Linked DNA regions of Homo sapiens: region 2 is linked to region 1. The links are contacts of gene promoters, found by promoter capture Hi-C in blood cells and fetal thymus (Javierre and others, 2016). All regions are on one chromosome and are shown on one strand. Each heading gives the region's core, a stretch centred on a gene start or on the middle of the fragment in contact. The rest is flanking DNA. Distances are from core to core; before and after follow the strand shown. Region 1 holds the start of TRPM8 (transient receptor potential cation channel subfamily M member 8). Region 2 has its middle 170 kb from the start of SH3BP4.

What was found. The method cuts DNA at HindIII sites, captures the fragments that hold promoters and counts their contacts. A CHiCAGO score of 5 or more calls a contact.
Region 2: a contact is called between a fragment that was not itself captured here and the fragment with the promoter of TRPM8 in region 1, in 1 of 17 cell types (M1 macrophages). The highest score is 5.1, in M1 macrophages.

Annotation. Positions count from the first base shown.
Region 1 is chr2:233,915,062-233,920,969 of GRCh38, forward strand. It overlaps TRPM8 (transient receptor potential cation channel subfamily M member 8), which reads left to right and starts at 2,312. Exons shown (of 26, transcript NM_024080.5): 1 at 2,312-2,371. The HindIII fragment of the contact is 1,520 bases long and covers 2,291-3,810 here.
Region 2 is chr2:235,115,623-235,121,530 of GRCh38, forward strand. No RefSeq gene overlaps it. Among named protein-coding and RNA genes, the nearest start is that of SH3BP4, 170 kb to the left of the region's middle. The HindIII fragment of the contact is 1,569 bases long and covers 2,797-4,365 here.

The DNA.
Region 1 (5,908 bases), core at 1,062-3,561:
AGAGTCAGTGGCATCAATGCATTCACATTGCTCTGTAACCATCATCATCATCCACCTACAGTTTGTTCAGTTTTAATGTTTTCTCATGGCACAAAAAATAGGGAAGCCAAGCTGAGAGTCTGAGTCTGCATATCTAGCTGGAAGTATGCAGAATGGCTCTGCTTATCTTAGTGGGGGAGGAAGGTGTTCAGGGACAAGCAGGGACAGTGCTGTTAATTCACCTTTGAAACCTGCTTTGAGGAGTAAGTGGCTGAAAAACGTCTGTGTGTGACTGAGGTTGCTCAGGGCAGCCACCTTCTGGCATTAAAAGATAGTTCAACAATCCAGCATCTTAAAAAAAAAACCAAAACAATTTCTATCTATCTTGCTAGATGAATTGGGCATTTTGTTGCGTCTTGGATGAAATGGTAAATATTTACATTATATATGTACACCTCTACTTATATCTCTCTATCTCCATCTCTCTCGCTCCCATTTCATGAGGATGCTTACTTACAGCAAGGATCCATTCACGTATGATTTTAAGGACTTGCTAAAGATATTTGAATACAACTTGTTCAGGCCAGATCATACATTATCTGCTGTGGATAAAACAAGTTTGGATTTACAATGAAAATTGAGATAGAACAAAAGACTTGCTTAATAACCAGAAAATGAATGAGAGAAGTCCACATGAGCTTAATTAATTGGCTCAATATTTCTCTCTCTCTCTCTCTCTCTCTCTCTCTCTCTCTCTCTCTTTTCTTGAGACAGAATCTCACTCTGTCACCCAGGTTGGAGTGCAGTGGCATGATCTCGGCTCACTGCAACCTCCACCTCCCAGGTTCAAGGGATTCTCATGTCTCAGCCTCCTGAGTAGCTGGGATTACAGGCACGTGCCACCACACCTGGCTAATTTTTGTATTTTTAGTAGAGACAGGGTTTTGCCATGTTGCCCAGGCTGGTCTTGAACCCCTGACATCAAGCAATCGGCCCGCCTCAGCCTCCCAAAGTGCTGGGATTACAGGCATGAGCCACTGCACCCAGCTGGCTCAATATTTCTAACAGCTAAAAAGCTCATTTTGCTGCTCCGCTCCTCAGATGGACTTGCTCCCCTGTGCAGTGCTATATATGTGCTTGGGGACCATGCTGGGTATGGGAGTTTTTAGTCCTAGGACCCATATTTAGAGTAATTCTGAGATTTCTCTGATTCTCTCTCTCTATTTCTAGCTGGATCTCTTCTCTCACGGGTCCTCATTCAAATCTATCATTTCCAGTTTTCCACAGCCCCCACCCTTCCCTACTTACTACCTAACACTTGGCTGCTCCCTTCATCTTTATGACCTGTCTGAGCCTTGGAATATTTGAGTTTGAGACCTCTGTCTGGAGTCTTTTGTCTCTCTTTGTTAAGGGGGTTTTCTTCTTGAATTGAACATGCTTTCTGCAGGAGTTATCACTACAACCCTATCCTTCCTTTCAGACCTTGCTCAAATCTCTCTGCCTTTGCAAAAAACCCCTTCACACTCCTTCTCTTTCATCTCTAACCTTTTTGCAAGTGTATGTCTTGTGCAATCAGTTCCTGAAATACACTATCCTATTTGTATTTCTCTATGACATATGCTTCATATGAAAATAAAATAGAAATAATGGCCAAAACAGAGGAACATTAGTTATAATATAACTGTTATGTTTGTGGCACGTGATTTAAGTAAAATGACCGAAAGTTGCCCACTGACAATTGTTACTTATTTCTTCGAGGAGAGCTCTTCCAAAGTGTAGTTTAAAGGGGACAGGAAATAGCTGTAAATTAATGAAGCTGGATTTGCTCACCTCCATGATGCCCTCTTGCCTGGCCCAATACTGCATTTAGTTGGTATGAGGAAAGTTCACAAAATCTGCAAAAAAGCAATGTTGGTTAAATTTCCTCTATTTAATAATTTTTTTCCTAATCTTAATTAAGAGCTTTTAATTTATTAATTAATCTTGTCATCACTTTCTATAATGAGCATTTCCCATTTTATTTGTGGTTTTTAAAATGTGCCATTAATTGCAGAAATTAAGTATTAGTATGATTTCATACTATGGTGTTATTGTCAAGCTAAGAGCAGGAATTTGGTATCATTTCTTTATTAGCATTTAAAATACCATGTTCACTAATTATCCATTCCCTACTCGTATTCCACTGCTAAATTGCTGCTATGCTTGGAGGCTTTAGGAGTCTTCTTGCAATTTCAGCGGCTTAAGTTTTTTGTTCCTCTGCTTAAAAGAACCTCAGAGAAGAAGGCGGGGCTAAGAAGATTCCAGTTATAAAAGCTTTCCTCCTCCTGTGGGGAGAGACCAGCAGGATCCTTGGGTGAAAGAAAATCCTGCTTGACAAAAACCGTCACTTAGGGTATGTCATCAACTTTTGCTTTTTGCTTCTCCTTAAATGTTGCCATTGCTGTAACTTGTAGAATAGTACGAGTTTGTGTCTCTGGGAGGGGCATCATTTAGTTTTTCTATGAAGATTTGAAACTAAAGGAAGACAAAAATTTAAATTCCTCAAAGTGTTGTGGGCATAAGCAAATGCGGGTTCACAGATATATCTAATCCTCACTTAGATTTATTTAGAAATGTAGAATTATTTGCTGAATTTTTGAATGACTTTAAATATAATTACAGTTTTCTGTTTCTGATTGAAGGAGTTAGAAACTCCCTAAATGAGCTTTAATGAAAAATTCACTGGCATCTGAACTCTGCAACTGACTATCTGAAGCAATCCTATTGGGAACATAATAAAACAAGTTTTTTCTTGAATCAAGACTATGGTGAAATGTAAATTAACATCAAGAAATAATGCATTCAAATAGTAAATATTCTTTGATAATGAAAGGAGCGGGTATATTTAGCTTGTTTTTACATACTGTGTTTCCTTCCGTTCTTCCAGCCTGTTGAAACAGGCTCATCATTTGTATTATTTATAAGCAAGAGAGAAACACTGAAGGGCTGGATGAATAATTAAAGGTTTTATTTCCATTTAATTTTCAATCCATTATTGCCAGTGCTGACTTTTTCAGTGTTAGGATTCTTGAGCTGAACATAAGGAAATGGTTATTCCTTAAGACTATTCTATATGTGCTAATACAAAGATACTGATCATGAGAGAAGTTTTAGCTTGTCAAAATCTTGACAGTGCAAAGGACTTACTTCCAAGGTTGTGACTTTGGATGCATATTTATTTATAATTTGGAAAAAAGCTGTTTATTATTATTTATTAATAAGATATTTATAATTATATTACAAATAATATAATTGTTATAGAAATAATATAATTACATTATAAATTATAATTACATTACAATTTATAATAATAATTATCACTATCTTTGTTTTGCCTAAGAACTGATATCATTCTTGGCACCTGTGAAGACAGTAGGGGTCCAGGCTGCATAGGGACCCCTGCTTTTCCTCTTATTCTAAGAGGGTCTCAGCAAATAGCATCTTGGAGCATCACCTGCTGCCTGTATCTACCTCCTGTTTCTCACTTCTACTTTTTGGAGCAGGATACCTTGGGGTCAATGACTTCGGGAGCCTCCACTGGCTTTTGCTATTTTCCTAGTTTTCATCCATCTATTCAAACTGAAAAAAATTTGGCTGATAGAGGCAATTAGAAAAACAGGATAATGCCTACAACAAAATAAATCTCAGCTCTCTCCTGGTGGTGACTGAGACATGGAGGCACAGATGCCTAGTGACCTTTTCAGGTATTGTAACCCTTGTATGCACCCCTGCCATGCCCCTGCCAAAATAAGAGTGGAGGAGATCTCTCTGGATGGTGTCATTTATATTTGAAGCTTCTGCAAGTGTTATACTCACCATTTTCATGAATAATTGATGGCTCAAAGAGTGGAGATGGCTGGGGTTTGGTGTGGGGCCCTTTGGAGCATTTTCCTTAGAGTATGAACAAGTTTTTCCTCTCTCATTCAGTGTGCAAAGGAAAACATCTTGTTTCTCCCCCCACCCCATTTTTTTTTTAATCAGAAAGAGACTTAGAACTAGACAATCCTGATTGAAAATGACACTTTAGGACTGATTTGACCATGGTGATAGGTGAGCTAAAAAGCAACTTATAAAACATGCCAGAAGCCTTTTTTTATTAGGATAATAAGAGCACACTAATATTTTTTTTGTATTGAGTTCAAAGGATGCATGAATATTCTGTTGTTCATGAGTGACTTCTAGACTATTTAAAATTATTCATGACCATTGATAATAAAAATAGTACCACGGCCAACCTCTCCCCTCAGCAAACAACATGAGGTTTGTAACCCTTTGTTTAAATTTTGGCAGTGTACTAATGTTGTTAAGATGACAATCTATTTCTTCTCAAAGCTGTATTAAAGTGGCACAAATTAGCTTAATGTTTAAGATTGGGTCTCAGGCCAGCCTGCTTGATTTTGAATTCTGCATCCTCTACTTATTAGCTGTGTGACTTTGGGAAAGTTACCTAACCTCTCTGTGCCTTGGTTTGTCATCCATCTAAAGGAGAAAATAATAATCCATATAACTCATGGGGAGATGGATCCATGTAAATACTCTTTAACGTATCCATGTAAAGAGTATTTACATGGATCCATCTTGCCATGTGTTATATGGATTATTATTTTATTACAAGTACAGTGCCTGGCACATAATAGACATGACACAATACATAACAGTTATTTATTACTGACATTTGGATGGTGTTCCTGGTCTGATGGAGATGTATGTTTCATGTGCAAGCAGGACAAATTGTAATGTTCAGACATTCAAGTTGTGACTACACAAGAACACAAAGCCAAAATTAACATGATATTGCCGCTTGAACATCCAATCAGTTACCTGCATGTGTTTTGAAAAGATTTGATTATATGCTCTGGAAACATTTTATTGCACTTTAAGGACAAGGGGGTCCTTGGTGTGATCTGTGGGCCAGTGGTCCTCTGAAGGTGGTCCTGAGGCCACCTCATTAGCACCTGGGAACTTGCTAGAGATGCAGAATCTGGGGCTCACTGCAGATGTCTCATGCTCTTGAGGTGGGGCCCAGCACTCTGAGTTTTAATAAGTCCAGTGAGTCAGCCTGCAGGATGACGTATAGTTTCCTGTGTGAGAAACTGTAGGAACTGTTGGTCCTTAGTTTGTAACTGCCATCTCTCCTGATAGGTATGGTAGGTCTATCGTGAAGTTTTGAAAAAAATGTGAACGGTATTTCAAGAGTCCATCTTGATTTTAATTTTTACTGAGGTTATCTCTATGGTGGTCATTAAGATTCCATTAAATTCATCAGGCCCATTTGAAATTTTTGAGAGTAAAGACCATGAATAGAAATAATTGAGATTATTGATTAAAAACATGAAAGCAAAGATTGACATAGTTAAACAAGTAAATCCTAGAACTGGACAAATCCTTAGCTATCTCTCTGTGAAGGTCCCTTCCTTTGGGCCTGCCATGGAGATAATTCCATTGAATTTTACTTTCATGGCATAGCTTCAACTTGCATTCAGGACATTCTAAGAAATAGCCAGGCTAAGTTTAGTGCTGTAAGTCTTGCATGGCTGTGCAGGGATATTTACCACTATGTGGCCCAGTGTGCTTTTGGCATAGGCATTTTTCTTTTAACTTATTATTTTGAGATAATTATAGCTTCACAGGAAGTGGAAGAGGAAAAAGCATAGAGAGGGTCTGTGTACTCTTCACCCAGTTCCCCTCAATGGTGACACCTCATGTAACTATCATACAAGATTAATACCAGAGAATTGGCATTGGCACAATGCAAAGGCTTTATCAGATTTCACCATTTTTTTTTTTTTTTTTTGAGATGGAGTTTAGTTCTTGTTGCCCAGGCTGGAGTGCAATGGTGTGATCTTGGCTCACCGCAACCTCCGCCTCCTGGATTCAAGTGATTCTCCTG
Region 2 (5,908 bases), core at 2,331-4,830, 1.2 Mb after region 1:
TATATTTGGATTTCACATGGCAGAGAAAATCAGCTGAATGATAATTAATGACGCATCTGTTTTTGAAAGTCTATTGTTTTATATTGAGCTATGTAAATTTGATATAGGAAAGATTCATGAAATCTCACTCCAAATGACATGGATTCTCTCCAAACTAAGAAAAAAAATCACCAAGAATAGCATACTGTAATTTCAAAGCTTGCAAGCGGCTTTGAAATTTTAAAATATTCATATAATTTTTTAAAGGATGGGTAGGAATTTCTGTACACAGTGGAACTATTCCTGCCATATGACAATAGCATAAAGACAAGCTAGAATGGACTCTGCTTGCAAGCTTTGAAATTACAGTATGCAATTCTCAGTGATTCTTCTTCCTAGTTTGGAGAAGATCCATCTCATTTGGAGTGAGATTTTATTAATCTTTCCTATATCACACTATTTTTAATTTACATAACTCAAACAAAGAAGGGTACCGTGTGGGTGGCATTTCGTTTGCAGCATAGAGGAGGTGGTGGAAGTGAGTCCTTCTGTGACTTGACCAGAGATGTGAGCATGAGAAAGTATTGGCTGAGCCTGGTTCTCTGGTCTGAGACTCAGGGACATTCAGCTCAGTCCCCTTCCACCCGCACACCCCCACCTGATGCTGCTGTCATCGTGCCTCATCTGGCCACATCTCTCATCTTTGGCTCTGCACTCAAGGTCATCCATAATGCGAAGCCACCTCTCCAGCCATGCCTTAGCTCCCACTTTTCCTGAAAGTGAAGCTCTGCCTCTCTCACCCCGTGGTCCTTCCCGATGCTCCCATCCTGCAGGCCAAGCCATCCTCTCCCCCACGACTTGCCCCTGCTCCTCTGCTTCCAGCCCCTGCAGTTTTTGTGTTCACTGCAGACTCTGGGGCCTCCAAGAGTTTGTTTCAAACACCTTCTTTTTTTTCCTTTCATTCCTTGGATCTGCTTACCACGATCTCAGCCTTTAATTGTTGGTGCCTCCTGGGCAGCAGCCCTTAGTTGTGTGTTGTTTATATCCTTCCCTCATCGACCAGTGCTTGATACATTCTAAATTATTTCAAATTAATTTGTAAAACCCACAATTATTATCATTTCACTCATATTCCAGGTCAATTTTGACAAAGGTTTCATAGATTTTCATTGAAAATGACATATATCTTAGGAAGAGTTAATACAAAGGTGAAGTTTATGTCAATATATATTTTATTTTTTTCAAAATTATAGTATGAAGTTTTTTCTGGAGAAGGACAAATTTTATTGAATTCCTACACAGGAGTTTCTCTTCTCCTTATCAAATGGTACAGGAATTAAGCATGAAAGGTTAATTCACACAGTCTTAGAACTCTCTCTTCCCTACCTTCTTTCTGCAAAACCAGAAAAAAAAAGCCTGTTTTCAGTCAATAGCTATTTTATTACTCTGTTTGTTAAATAATTTAACTTTATTTGCAATACTATACCTCCCCCTGGTGGAAATAAACAGGCTGTAACAATTACAATCTTTCTTTTTCTGAATCCATTGCAGCGGATTGTGAAAAGACGAGGAAGGAAACAGTAGCTTGTTTATTTCCAGTCCGTTCATCCCAAACTAGTAATTCCATCTCCATTGGTTCTGTATCTGAAATTTCTTTTTATTCTTTATTTTCCTCCCTAACTTATGATGTTGTATATGGTCTTGCAACTTAAATTCTTTTGTAATGTTATTCAAATGAAAATTCATAGATTTTCCAAAGTACTTTATTTCCTAAGCTTTCATGTATTAATTAATAATGCTTTTACCTTTATGGGCCAATTTTAGACATATAGCCCATCAGTCTGAGCTGATAAGCATAATTGAATAGTGCCTTTGCCTGAAGTAATTTCAGAGAAAGCTAAGAAGCCTGCTGCTTTAGAAATATTTGGGGTGTTTTTATTAAGAAAATAAGCAAAAAAGCCTAGTGGAATACTATCTTTTAAACCTTTATACTTGTAGAGAACAAATCATTTTGTTTAATTGATTTGTTCTAGAGGTGACAAAACTGAGGACCTTACCTGAGATGACAAAGATAGTTAAGTGGTGGGACTGTGATCAAAATGTATTAATGGATTGAAAGTCAGGAAGCTGTCTCCTCGCTTGAAACTTAGTGGGCAACCACTAACGACTAAGGAATAGATTGAATGCCTGGGGATCAGTTTTACATGGGGAAGTGAATCACAGTTTCCTAGAGTAAATGGAATAACAAAAAAGAAATATCAAGGTGACTGAAAAAAAAAGCATAAAATCTGACACGTAATAAGTGCTATTTATTAAAAGGCAAAGGCTTCCATCTTCTATTAGAATACAAAACCACAATAGACTGCTGATTAAAAGAGAAGTTACAATTAAATAACATTAAAAGTTTATTCTATATGGAAAGCATGACAGGCAACGGTGAACAAAACAGATAAATGTTTGGATGGTTTGGCAAAGACGATAAGAAACAAAGTGGTAAGGTGGTAACTCTCCCTGCTATTATGGTCTCTGGAGTTTCTCCACTCCTATTTTTTCCAGGCTACCAAACTACTAGCGAGAGAAAGAAATTTTATGACAGCAATGGCTAGAAAAAATACTTGAGACAAAATTGGACATTTAAATTTATAGAAAGTGCCATCTACAGCTTTAAAAATACATAAAGCAAAAACTGAAATACAAGGAGTAATTAACAGAAGCATGAAAGCAGTAGAAGTATGTGTATATACAAATACACACGCACATACTCACAACGCCAACATTCTATATTCCAATCAGGCATGTAAAAAGTGAGGCCATAAAAGCTTTGTAAAATATCTCTAATTGAGACAAATCAAGTGTCTGCTTTCAGACATAATGGAGTGACTTAAATTGGACTAACTTTCATGCCAAGAAAAAATCCTATAAAAGCTGAATAAAATGTACAAAATGACTGTGTGAAGCAGTGGGCAGCAACTAATGTAGACAGTACTGAAAGGCACAATTGTGAGAGTGAGAGAAGGGAAGCACACAAGATAATTTCTTTTTTTTCTTTTCTGGTATTCTTTTTTTTTCTCTCTTTTTTTTATTATACTTTAAGTTCTAGGGTACATGTGCACAACGTGCAGGTTTGTTACATATGTATACATGTGCCATGTTGGTGTGCTGCACCCATTAACTTGTCATTTACATTAGGTATATCTCCTAATGCTATCCCTCCCCCCTCCCCCCACTCCACAACAGGCCCCGGTGTGTGATGTTCCCCTTCCTGTGTCCATGTGTTCTCATTGTTCAATTCCCACCTATGAGTGAGAACATGCGATGTTTGGTTTTTTGTCCTTGCAATAGTTTGCTGATAATGATAGTTTCCAGCTTCATCCATGTCCCTACAAAGGACATGAACTCATCATTTTTTATGGCTGCATAGTATTCCATGGTGTGTATGTGCCACACTTTCTTAATCCAGTCTATCATTGTTGGACATTTGGGTTGGTTCCAGGTCTTTGCTATTGCGAATAGTGCTCACACAAGATAATGTCTACATTAACCCTGGTTGTTTTCCCTGTGGGAATTTTTTTAAATCGTTGCATGAGGAATAGAGACCACCTCTAACAAAGCTGAAAATCAAGCCTCCATGGGACCCAAGGTGATTCACTGATAGAGAACTGCCTGACAGGAAGAAAAAAACTTTCTTTGAAGAAAAACATCATTATCGGAGCCTCTACAATTTTTATCTACAATGAGCAAAATAAAATATAAAAATTAAAGGTTATGGTAAAAAAGACAGGACCAAGAGAAACAAACGTTAAGAAAAATGTAAACATTATATATAGTCTCACAGGTGATTTAGATATTGGAGTTATCAAAGAGAAATTTTAAAAATTGATTAGCCATTCAAGAAAATAAAGGATGGCATGGAAAAACAAGAGAAAATATAGAGAATTTCAACATAATTGAATATATATGAACAAAGCAACTGGGCGGTCTAGAACTGAAAAATACAATATTTGAAATGAAGAATTCATTAGATGAATTTAACAGTACACTGGACATAACAGAAGATGGGGAGGAATAGAATTTATTCAAACTGAAGCAAAGAGAGAAAAATAATGGAATGAACAGTACAGAATATTGTGTACATATACAGAATATTGTGTCCCCAAAGGAGAAGAGGGAAAAGAGCATAAATAATATTTGAAGACAGAATGGCTAAGTATATGTTTTAAAATATAATGAAAGACAACAACCCACAGGTTCAAGAGTCTATGCAAACCCCAAGATAACTAGAATAGGCACATCTTAGTCAAGCTGCTGAAAACCAAAGACAAAATGAAAATCTTAAAAGCAGGCGGGAATAGTGGGAATACTTTACTTTCAAAGGATCAAGAATAAAGCTTACAGCTGACTGTACAACATACTCATGGGAGCAAGTGGAATGACATCTTTAAAGGGCTAGGTATCAGCCAAACTAAAATTTTATAAACATTGAAAATATTAATGAAAATAAAGCAAAATAAGGAATTTTTGACAAATGAAAGCTGAGAAAATTTGTATCCAGTAGACTTGCACTAAAAGAAATACTAAAGATGGAGAATATCTTCATGACTTTGATGTAAGAACCGATTTCTGAAATAGATTTTTAAAAAGACACTAAACCTAATGAACATAATTGATAAATTAAACATAAATTGATGATTGACATTAAGCATTTCTGTTTACCAAAATAGACCTTTAAAAGAATAAAAATGCAATACCAACAAATATAAATGTTTATATTTGTGAACCATGTACTTGACCAAAGGCTTATATTCAAGATCAATGAAAAGGAAAATGTGTAAAAAATTTGATCAGGAACTTTCCAAAAGAATCTAAGAAGAACTTCGACTTCATTAGCTACCAGAGAAATACAAATTTAAAACACAGTAAGAGACTACCATTTTATTAGCTAAATTCTTAAATACATTCTAGATGAGCTGAAATTAAAAGACTGACTTCATTAAGTGTTGATGAGGATGTGGAGTAATTCATGTGCACTATTAGTGGCAGTGTAAGTAAATTGATATAAGCACTTTGGAAATCTATTTAGTATTATTTATTAAAATTGAATATACACATATTTTATGGCCCATGCACAAATATACCAAAATATATGCGCAAAAGCATTCATAGCAACATTAAATGTAAAGCTAAAAATGCAAAACAATGCAAATATCCTTGAATAGTAGAATGAATATATAAATTATGGTATTGTCATACAGTGAAACACAATTATTCTCTTAATAAATTTAATCAAGTAGATAAAAGGAACAAATGAAATAAGAGATTTCGGAGGGGGGGCCAGATCCATTCTTGATAAAAACAAAGATTTTGTAAGCTAAGAACATACAGATACTTTTCTGTTTTACTTTTCTTTTTGGCACTTCAGTTGCAGAGATTTAAATTAGTTATTCTCTTCAGTTCAAGGTACAACATCACCATGATTTGTACAAGACTCCCTCTTGGCTTTTAATACATTCATTTTTTTCCCGCCTCCACATTCTCCAATTCTCTCCTCCTTAGTTCTTTCTTCAGATGGAGCTGCCCTAGAGGGTTTGATATGTGTCTTTGGAAAATAAGTTTGTGAATGTGTGTGTGTTGGCAGGGGGCGGGGTGGGGAGTGGTGGTGAAGTTAATTCACATAAAGTGTAAACGACATAGTTCCTTGCTTTACATTAAATGGTTCCTTATCTTTTCATTATATCTCTTAAGATCTCCCTATGTTACTGTTGCAATATCTGGTGTATTGTCACAAAGCCTGGCAGCTATTTCTTCACCTGCCTCAACTTCATTTTCTTATCTATTCCCCTAGCGATGAACACCTAGGTTGCCTCCAACTATCCCCAAATTACTGCGAAGGACATCCTTCTACTTGTCTCCACACGGACCTGTGTGAGAA